3 separate regions of the Homo sapiens genome follow, and regions 1 and 3 are each linked to region 2. The links are contacts of gene promoters, found by promoter capture Hi-C in human tissues and cell types (Jung and others, 2019). All regions are on one chromosome and are shown on one strand. Each heading gives the region's core, a stretch centred on a gene start or on the middle of the fragment in contact. The rest is flanking DNA. Distances are from core to core; before and after follow the strand shown. Region 1 overlaps ZNF563 (zinc finger protein 563). Region 2 holds the start of ZNF442 (zinc finger protein 442). Region 3 has its middle 15 kb from the start of ZNF443.

Region 1 (3,502 bases), core at 774-3,273, 50 kb after region 2:
AGAAAAAGTAGCAGGTGTGGTGGTATGCCCCTGTAGTCCCAGCTACTTGGGAGGCTGAGGTGGGAAGATCTCTTGAGCCCAAGGGGTGGGGGTTGCAGTGAGCCAAGATGCACTGCACCCCAGCCTGGGCGACAGAGCCAGACCCTGTCTCAAAAAAAAAAAAAAAGTACATGAAAGGATTCACTCTGGAGAGAAGTCATATGAATGTAAGAAATGTAGAAAAGCATTGAGTTCTCTCAGGTCCTTGCATAGACATAAAAGGACTCACTGGAGAGATACTCTATAAATGTGTGAAATGTAGGGAAGTATTCTTTAATGTTATTTCATTTCAGATAGAAATAATTCTCATTGGAGATAAACCCTATGAATGTAAACACATAGTAAAGCCTTAATTTTAAGCCTCAGTTTCTTTCAAATACAGTTATCCCCTAATATTTGCAGGAGCGTGGTTCTACCACCCCCTGGGCATACATAAATCGACACATGCCAAGTCCTTTTTTAAAAATGACATATTTGGTACAAAATTACCCGGATGTGATGGCACATGCCTGTAATCCCAGCTACTCAGGAGGCTGAGGCAGGATAATCACTTGAATCCGGGAGGCGGAGGTTGCGGTGAGCCAAGATCGCGCCACTGCACTCCAGCCTGGGCAGCAAGAGCAAAACAACCTCTGTCACACACACAAAAAAAAAAAAAAAGGAAAGAAAGAAAAGACATATTTGGGTTAGACACAGTTGCTCACCTCTGTAATCCTAGCACCTTAGGAGCCCAAGACAGGTGGATCACTTGAGCCCAGGAGTTAGAGGCCAGCCTGGGTAATGTGGCAAAACCCTGTCTCTACAGAAGATACACAAATTAGCCAGGTGTGGTGACATGTACCTGTAGTCCCAGCTACTAGGGAAGCTGAGGTGGGAGGATCGCTTGAGCCTGGGAGGTTGAGGTTGCGGTGAGTCAAAATCACATCACTGCATTCTAGCATGGGCAACAGAATGAGACCCTGTCTCAAAAAAATAATAACAATAAAAAATATTTGCATGTAACCTACCCACATCCTCCTGTATACTCTAAATCATCTGTAGATTAGTTAAAATACATCATGCATCATAGAAGCTATGTAAATAGTTGTTATTATATTGTTTAGTGAATCATGATATGAGAAAGACCCTACACATATTCAGTACAGACCCACCCACATAATACATGTCACCTAGAGCATTATAAATCTTTTCTTTCAACACTCATAGATTGCTTTTGTTTAATGACCTGAAAATGTGTTAACATTCACCCAACAAAAGTGTAATGATGATTATTGCAATATCGTGCCTAATGTTGTGATGTGTTGAGTCAGCTAGATGTGTGACACCACAGATAAGCAGTGAGACCTCAGGCTAACTCGAATCTTGACAGGATGTCAACATGATCAACTATATTGGAAGAAACAGATTCTGACTGCAGATACTGAATTTTTGGAGCAGTCTAAATAATACTAATGTCAGAATCTGTTCAATTTGAGGACTGAAGATCTTTAAGCATTGAAGGCTGTCTTCATATTTGCAGATATTTAATTAGAAACATTGTAGGAAGCTAGTTTTTTTTTTTTTAAACTTTGCAACGTTTGTGAGCATGTAATCTCTGGGGTGACATGGAGGCTTTGTTCCATGGAAGAATCTTAATTGAGGATGATAATCTTTAACACTTGCGCCTTGTAGAAGCTGTAGGTGCCCTAAAACTGCTTCCAATTTTTCTTTTTTTTTCTTTTTCTTTTCTTTTTTTTTTTTTTTAAGACAAGATCTCACTCTGTCACCCTACAGTGCATGGCTCACTGCAGCCTCAACTTCCTGGGCTCAAGTGATCTTCCCACCTCAGCCTCCCAAGTAGCTGGGATTATAGGCACACATCACGATGCCTGGCTACTTTTTGTGTTTTTTGTGGAGACAAGGTTTCACCATGTTTCCCAGGCTGGTCTTGAACTCCTGGAATCAAGAGATCTGCCTGCCTTGGCCTCCCAAATTACTAGGATTACAGGGTGAGCCACCACACCCAGCCTTCAGATTTTTCAAGTATCAAAATCTATAGCACTGCTTCTTTTTTTTTTTTTCAGACAGAGTCTCACTCTGTCGCTGAGGCTGAAGTGCAGTGGTGCAATCTCAGCTCACTGCAGCCTCCACCTCCCAGGTTCAAGTGATCCTCCTGCATCAGCCACCTGAGGAGCTGGGATTACAATCTCAGCTCACTGCAACCTCCACCTCCCAAGTTCAAGTGATCCTCCTGCCTCAGCCACCCAAGTAGCTGGGAATACAGGCATGCACCACCATGCCCAGCTAATTTTTGTATTTTTAGTAGAGACAGGGTTTCGCCATGTTTGCCAAGCTGGTTTTGAACTCCCTGTGACTTCAAGTGATCTGCCTGCCTTGGCCTCTCAGAATGCTGGGATTACAGGCATGAGCCACCACTTATGGCACTGCCTCTTTATTTATTTATTGAGACTGAGTCTCACTCTGTCACCCAGGCTGGAGTGCAGTGGCACGATCTCGGCTCACTGCAAACACTGCCTCCTGGGTTCAAGCGATTCTCATGCCTCAGCCTCCCAAGTAGCTGGGATTACAGGTGCCCGCCACCACACCCAGCTAATTTTTGTATTTTTAGTAGAGACGGGGTTTCACCATGTTGGCCAGGCTGGTCTTAAACTCGTGACCTCAGGTGATTCACCCGCTTCGGCCTCCCAAACTGTTGGGATTACAGGCGTGAGCCACCACGCCTGGCGGCACTGCCTCTTCTAAATCTACATCATCATCATCATCATCTATAGAGGATTTCAGCATATCTTCTAGTTCCTTGTTAGTAAAGGTTTCTTCTTTGCTCTTCTGTGTGTTCCTCAACATTGTCTTCACTTGTGTCAGAGATAGCCTTCCCCACCAACTTTCCTTACATTTAAGATATTTCTGACTATCATATCGATAGTGCAGAAGCGCCTGAAATCATTGACTTCCTCACTCCATAATGGCTTCCAACACACTTTGGCTGTCTTGAGCTGTAGGGCATTTACAGCCTCCGCAATAAACACAATCGTTTCTGCAGTTGGGAAGCTCTTCCATAAATCCTGTATGACATGGTGAGGGTTATTATCAAGACAGCATAAATCCTTCCAAAAGTCCAGTGGGTGTAAGACACCTTGAGGCACTTGATGATGCTTTGATCAAGTAGTTGTAGCAGTGATGTAGTTTTAGGAGGCAGGAACATCACTTCCCCATTTTTATCGGCATAACAGAGAGAAGAGAGATGCCAGGAGCGTTGTCAGTTATGAGGAGGGCCTTGAGTGGCAGCCCCTTCTTTTCAAGGTATTCATTCACATCAGGAATGAAGCAGTGGTAGAACCAAGTCCTCGTGTGTTTTTGTCAGGACACGGGCAGGCAAGTTTCGCTTTTGTTTTCAAGGACCCACGGATTGTTTACTTAGTAGAGGAGGCTTTGTTTGATCTTATGACCTGCTGCATTGCCACGT
Region 2 (3,469 bases), core at 213-2,712:
TTGAAATATTGGGGGCTGGTTTCCCCGATAGTAGTCACTCTTCAGCTGGGTGTGGGTTCTGTCTTTGAAGTAATCTTTTGTTGGAAAGAGAATTCCAGAGGTGCCTGGTACCTAACAAGATCCAACCCCTGAAGCTTCTAAGGAAATATATGACCAAATAAGAGAGCATGGTGTGTGCTTAATAAGTATTTAGGTAAATAAATGTGCACAGGCCAGGCGTGGTGGCTCACGCCTGTAATCCTAACACTTTGGGAGGCCGAGGCCGGCGGATTGCCTGAGCTCAGGAGTTCACGACCAGCCTGGGCAACATGGTGAAACCCTGTCTCTACTAAAATACAAAAAAATTAGCTGGGCATGGCAGCGTGCACCTGTAGTCCAGTGTGCTACTCGGGAGGCTGAGGCAGGAGAATTGCTTCAACTTGGGAGGCGGAGGTTGCAGTGAGCCAAGATTGAGCCACTACAGTCTGTCCTGGGTGACAGAGTGAGACTCCGTCTCCAAAAAAATAAAATAAAAATAAATGTGCATAAGGCATGGCAGTGTAGTATGGGAAAGGAAAGGGAGTGGAAGTTCACAGCACATTCTGAGGCTGTATTTTAAGATGAGAGGTAACATCTATGCAGTTTATCTCGAAGTTATTATCTTGAGATCAGGAGGGGAAAGAGGAAAAGGGAAAGAAGAAGAAAAAAAAGGTTTAAAACGTGGTTTGAGACTCAGCTGCTAAGCTGCTGGTTACACACTCTGGGACTCAACTTCAGGAGTCAGAATCTGCCTTCTAAGCTTGAAAATATGTTTAACCTCCTGAAAGGGGGTTTCCTGCTGAACTGTGGCTGAAATTTCTCTGAACTAATTCAGGTTTTTTCTTTTCCCTTCTTTTGATTCCTTTATAGAAGATTACTGCCATATAATTCCAGATTTTCCATGCATTTAACAATTTTATTTCATTGTTGATGTGTTTTTATTTTCTGGTCTGAGAATGAGTAGATTGGGAGATAAGGTGGGAGAAAGGCTTGACCATGGAGCCAGCAGTCTCATCCTAAATTCCTGATCCCTGGAGGACACCAGGCCTTCCCTCCTGCTTCAGTGTGGTTTGTGTGGCCTGGGCCTCCCCTACCGCTCTGAGGCCAGGGGATGGCTCCACTGGGCAGTGAGTCTCGAATTCCCAGCACACACTTGTGGGTCCCCGTCCAGGAAGAAGGAGCAGGAAGAGCCCATTGAGTACAGGCAGGAAATTCCGCTTAAATGCAAATGTCCCCTGGGAGGGGTCAGGTCACAGCGAAGGGAGGAAGCCCACCCTATCAAGGGCTGTGTCTGGAACCGCTTCATCTCGCTCCACTCAGCCGTGTAAGATCCTTCTTCTGTCAATCAGTTCCCTGGGGGGGCGGAATTTGGAGCTCTACCCAATCAGTGTTGGGGGCGAGTTCTTGGGAACTGCCAGTCAGGCGCGCTGCCGGGAGGAGGGTGGAGCTTTCTACACCCCTCTGAGCTCCCGCTCCTGGCTCTGTAGCTGAGAGAAGCCCTGGCAGGTCAGTGGCAGGCACTGTCACGCTGAGTCCTATGCTGGCAGCGGGGAACCTTGGGGAGAACACGGGACACCGCGGAAGCCGGGAAATGGTGAGTGTGCGGGGCCCGGCGTCCTGGGGCAGGGCGAAGGACTGGTTGGAACCGGCCAGAACCGGCTGTGGCGGGACCCGGGCGTCCCCGCGGCGACTGCGGGGTCTGTGGACCCGAGTTCCCCTGGCCCAGCCGGCCTTCAGTCCCCTCGGCCGCGGGGTGGGAGCTGGGGGCTGGGCCGGCAGCCGGGACCCCGGGCGTCCTGTCCCGTTTCTGCGCAGCAACTGCGGCCCCGGCTCCCGCGCCCTCTCTGGGGCAGCTCCATGCCCACAGCTCCGCGTCTTCCCAGATTGTGCGGCTGTAACCGGCACAGGTTCGCGGTCCGAGTCACTGCACCGAGACTCCAAGGCCTGCAGCAGAAACAGTTTAATAGGGGGAGAGGAGAGAAGACCCCAGTTCCGCCTCCATGAGAGGTTTGGGGATGGGGGTGTTTAGGGGTCTGGACAGGGGCGGCTGAAGTGTGGGGTCGCTGGTTGGTGGGGAAGTGACAGGCGAATCCTGGGACGGGAGGTGAAGAAACCGCATTCTCCTGCTGAGTGGGTTCCCTCGTGGGGTTTTCACCCTGCTTGGCGCCAGCCTTTCCGTTGGAATTCAAGATCTGAGAAAGAACTTGGGCAACTCGAGCAGCTCTCCGAGATCTTATCCCCAGGCACAATGCAGAAGCCGGCGGTCAGTGTCTTCTGTGACCTGACTCTCAGGAAGGCGGCCCCCGCGAGGCAGTGGGGCTCAGGGTACCTGGTTAATATCTAACTGCAATCAGAATCCAGATTCTTGCGTGGGGTTTGTGCACGGGAGGAGCTGTGGTCTGCGGGGTCCCCAGTCCCTTCTTTTCTTCCCAGGGTGACTGATTCCTCTTCGAGTTTTTCAGAGATGGGGGTAGCAGGGTCTCAAATCCACTACCCTGTTCCCTCATTCTAACTCCTCCTAGGGGTGGTAGTAACTCCCTTGGTTTCCAGAGCCTTACGCAGGCTAACTTTCCCTCCTCAGTTCACAGCAACATCATGAACTCCTCCCTCCTCCGCCCCACCCGTGCTAAATTTCAGAGTCCCAGTATTTTAATTTTCATTTTGTTTTCAGAGAGCAATGGATGGCTTCTTTTTTTCTTTCTTTCTTTTTTTTTTTTTTGAGATGGAGTTGTGCTCTTGTTGCCCAGGCTGGAGTGCAATGGTGCGATGTCGGCTCACCGCAACCTCCGCCTCCCGGGTTCAAGAAATTCTCCTGTCTCACCCTCCCGAGTAGCTGGAATTACAGGCACCCACCACCACACCCGGCTAATTTTTTGTATTTTTAGTAGCGACGGGGTTTCACCATGTTGGCCAAGCTCATCTCGAACTCATGACCTCAGGTGATCCGCCCGCCTCGGCCTCCCAAAGTGCTGGGATTACAGGCGTGACCACCGCGCCCGGCCGGCTTCTTAAAAGATTTGTGTTCCTGAACATTTCACATGTGAGGAAGCAGAGAATAACCTGACACTGCACTGTAAAAAACAAAAAAACAAACAAAAAAACCTTTGTGTCTCTCCTTTTCTTTCCCCTGGGTACGGATACCTAATCAACATTGAAAGTCCCCTTTAGAAACTTTATGGGGTGATGTGTTCTCAGCCCACTCTCTGCCTTTTCCTGGTTCTGTTTCAGAACTGCCTGGGGTTGACCCAAGATACACACAGCTGCCCTGTCTCTGGGAGGGTCCAGTGAATATCAGTCCCTGGGTCATTTCTCCCAGTGAGCAGCCTGAGGTGTTGGGGTGGGGCCTCACAGAGAACAGCTGGATGCCCTGGGTGGGATGGGAGGAATATTCTGGTATACCATTTCTATAAAAAGCTAACCCTTGGGACAATCACCTTGTTCTTCCCCAACC
Region 3 (3,870 bases), core at 552-3,051, 60 kb before region 2:
CTGCAACCCCCACCTCCCGGGTTCAAGTGATTCTCCTGCCTCAGCCTTCTGAGTAGCTGGGATTACATGTGCGCGCCACCACACCCAGCTGTCTTTTGAGTAGAGACTGGGTTTCACCATGTTGGTCAGGCTGATCTCGAACTCCTGACCTTGTGATCCACCCGCCTTGGCCTCCCAAAGTGCTGGGATTACAGGAGTGAGCCACTGCGCTTGGCCTGGCTAAGTGTTTTTTCAAGTATGATGTTACCATCAGTAGGGCTGTGGTTCTGTGACGTGTCCTCTAGCCACACACTTAATGCTTATCCTTAGTTTATCATGAACTAGAGGGATCATTTTTGCCACTGTAGGGGCAGCTCTAACACTTTGAGGAACTTCAGCTTCTCTCTGCTTTAGTGTGTGATTTCTTGGTTTGTTCTTACCTTATGACGAACTTTCCAAGGTGATACACCACTTTTCAAAACATCTTAGGTTTGTATTTTCTTATTGAGAGATACCACTTTTTGTCCCCTGCTAGCCTTTTAGGGATAGGTTTGACCACTTGATTCCTTCTTAGGAGCCATTTTTTAACATTTTTTATTTTTTTATATATGACATCTCAAGGGTCTCTGAATGAACAAAACAGTCTTCAAAAGCCAGAACAATGGCCAGATGTGGTGGCTCACATCTGTAATCCCACCGCTTTGGGAGGCTGAGGCAGGTGGATCATGAGGTCAGGAGTTGGAGACTAGCCTGACCAACATGGTGAAATCGCATCTCTACTAAAAATACAAAAATTAGTCGGGCATGGTGGCGCGTACCTGTAATCCCAGCTACTCAGGAGGCTGAGGCAGGGGAATCACTTGAGCCTGAGAGGTGGAGGTTGCAGTGAGCTGAGATCATGCCACTGCACTCCAGCCTGGGCAACAGGGCGAGACTCTGTCTCAAAAAAAAAAAAAAAAAAAGCCAGAACAAAGTTGGTGAACTCACACTTCCTGATTTCAAAACTTATTACAAATCCATACTAATAAAAACTGTTTGGTACTAGCGTAATAACGCAGAAATAGACAATGCAACAAGATAACACAGAAAGTCTAATAAAGTCTAATAATTTACATAAAGTCTAACAATTACTGAAAAGTCTGCTGTGACTATTCAATGGGGGATAGCTTAATGTTTCTGTAGAATGATGCTGTTGGGCAATGCACATCCACATGCAACAGGATGACGTTGTACCCATACCTAACATGTACAGAAGTTAAAATGAACGAAATATGTGAGTGTCCATCTTAGCTGTATAACTGTTAGATGAAAATACATGGCAAAAGCTGTATTACAGTGAATTTGGCAATGATTTCCTAGATTTGGCACCAAAAGCATGACCCACAAGGGAAAGAATAATTTGGATTTTGTGGACCTTTGGCATCAAAAGGCAATATTAACAGAGTAAATGGGTAACCCATAGAATGGGAGAAACCATTTCCAAATTATATATCTGATAAGGGATTAACATGAAGAGTATTTAGAAAATGATAAAAAGCTACTAATCACTTGTTATGGAATAAATGTTTGTAGAAAATTTTATTTATTTTTCCACTTCCCTGATGTGGCAGTATTAGGCAATGGTTTCTTTGAGATATGATAAGGATTAGGTTAGATTATGAGAGTGGATCCTCAAAAATGAAAGTGGAATGTGCATGGTCGCTCATGCCTGTTATGGCAGTACTTTGAATGGCCAAGATGGGAGGATCGCTTGAGGCTTGGATTTTCCCCCTTCCCCTTCCTCTTCCTTTTCCCCTTCCCCTTCTCCTTCCCCTTTCCCTTCCCTTCTCTTCTCTTCTTCCTCCCCTCCCCTCCTCTCCTTTCCCTTCCTTCCTGGAAATGGGGATCTCAATTTGTTGCCCAGGCTGGAGTGCAGTGGCGTGATTATAGCTCATTGCCACCTCCGACTCCTAAGCTCAACAGATCCTCCTGCCTCAGGCCTCCCAAGTAGCTGGGACTTCAGGTGTGTGCCACCATGCCCAACCGAGGCCTGGAGTTCAAGACCAGTCTGGGCAACATGGTGAGACCTCATCCTTACAAAAAAAGAAAAAAGGAAAATTTAGCTAGGCTTGGTGGTATATGCCTGTAGTCATAGCTACCAGGGAGGCTGAGGTCACCAGATCACTTGAGCCCAGGAGTTCAAGGCTGCAGTAAGCTAGGTCATGCTACTGCACTCCAGCCTGGGCTGGAGAGAGAGTGAGACCCTGTTTCTGAAACAAACTAAAATATATGTAAAAAGAGAATTGAGGTTAATGTTATTACACAATGGAGAAAAGTTGATTTCTTCTTATAAAGTGGCAGAGAACTTTGTGTATCGTGGTCCTGTGCTAGTTTTGTGGAAAGTAGAACTAGGAAGTGATGAAATTGGATATTGAGTTGACAACATTTCTAAGAAGTGTTGAAAAAGGCAGCTTGGTTCCTCTTGACTGCATATACTAATGTGAGGAAAGACTTGACTGGAGATGGAATTATTAAGATGGAACTGAAACAAAAAGATTTGGAAAATTCCCAGTCTATCCATATTACCAAGATGAAAAATCATCTTGGGAAGAGAAAACTCTAAGGGTGTGTCCAAGGACCATTTGATAGGAATAGTAGTTTAGAGGACTTACTCAGCCACCCCAGTAGTAAGACAGCCAGTTTGGTTTTTGTTTGTTTGGTTTTTGTTTTGTTTTCCTTTGTTTTTGAGATGGAATCTCATTGTCTCACCCAGGCTGGAGTACAATGGCATGATCTCGTGGCTCACTGCTTTCTCCACCTCCCGGGTTCAAGTGATTCCCCTGCCTCAGCGTCCCGAGTAGCTGGGATTACAGGTGCCCGCCACCACGCCCAGCTAATTTTTGTATGTTTAGTAGAGATGGGATCTTACCATGTTTGTCAGGCTGGTCTCGAACTCCTGACTTCAGGTGATCTGCCTGCTTCGACCTCCCAAACTGCTGGGATTACAGGCATGAGCCACCGCACCTGGCCTGTTTTTCTTTTTTTACGGATTCAGTGATCTGGACGGGCACATACTACCATGCCATTTTAATTTTTTTGTAGAGATGGAGTCTTGCCGTGTTGCTCAAGCTGGTCTTGAACTTCTGGACTCAAGCAATTCTCCCGCCTCGGCGTCACAAAGTGTCGCAATTACAGGCATGAGCCACTGCACCCAGCTGGACCTTTATTTTTTTGAGACGGAATCTCACTCTGTCGCCGAGGCTGGAGTGCAGTGACACGATCTTGGCTCACTGCATCCTCCGCCTCCTGGGTTCAAGTGATTCTTCTGCCTCAGCCTCCTAAGTAGCTGGGACTACAGGTATGCGCCACCACACCTAGCTAATTTTTGTGTTTATAGTAGAGATGGGGTTTTACCATGTTGGCCAGGCTGATCTTGAAATCCTGACCTCAGGTGATCCACCCACCTCAGCCTATCAAAATGCTCAGGTTACAGGCGTGAGCCACCACACCCGGCTGTACCTTTCTCAATGAGCCAATATGCTGATTGCAAACACATTTATTATGACTAAATAAAGTATTTTCCATTCATTTGGAAAGATATTATTTGCTCAATATAAGATTCTTTGTTGATATCCTTGTTCTTTTAGTTCTTTAAGGATGTTACTCCATTGTCTTCCTGTTTGCATTGTTTCTGATAATAAGTATGTAATCAATGTTACATTTGGTTGTCTGTTGTTAAGGTGTCTATTTTCTCTGGTTTCTTTAAAGAATTTTTTATTATACCTGGTTTTCAGCAATTTGATGCTGTGTCTTGGTGTAGATTTGTTGATATATATTGTGCCTGTGGTTTGTTGAGCATTTTGCATCTGTAGGTTCATAATTTTTATCTGTTTTGGAAAATATGCGACAAAT

Evidence for each region. Contacts are between HindIII fragments. The study calls those that stand out against the background at their distance.
Region 1: a fragment that was not itself captured here is called in contact with the fragment with the promoter of ZNF442 in region 2 in 6 of the 25 tissues and cell types used here (H1 embryonic stem cells, aorta, liver and 3 more).
Region 3: a fragment that was not itself captured here is called in contact with the fragment with the promoter of ZNF442 in region 2 in 2 of the 25 tissues and cell types used here (mesenchymal stem cells and small bowel).

What each region holds. Positions count from the first base shown.
Region 1 is chr19:12,314,674-12,318,175 of GRCh38, reverse strand. It overlaps ZNF563 (zinc finger protein 563), which reads left to right. Exons shown (of 4, transcript NM_145276.3): 4 at 1-699. Among named protein-coding and RNA genes, the nearest start is that of ZNF563, 17 kb to the left of the region's middle. The HindIII fragment of the contact is 6,161 bases long and covers 1-3,502 here.
Region 2 is chr19:12,363,676-12,367,144 of GRCh38, reverse strand. It overlaps ZNF442 (zinc finger protein 442), which reads left to right and starts at 1,462. Exons shown (of 6, transcript NM_030824.3): 1 at 1,462-1,612; 2 at 1,902-2,343. RefSeq lists an enhancer at 1,549-1,648 and a silencer at 1,749-1,928. The HindIII fragment of the contact is 16,775 bases long and covers 457-3,469 here.
Region 3 is chr19:12,423,959-12,427,828 of GRCh38, reverse strand. No RefSeq gene overlaps it. Among named protein-coding and RNA genes, the nearest start is that of ZNF443, 15 kb to the left of the region's middle. The HindIII fragment of the contact is 8,163 bases long and covers 1-3,870 here.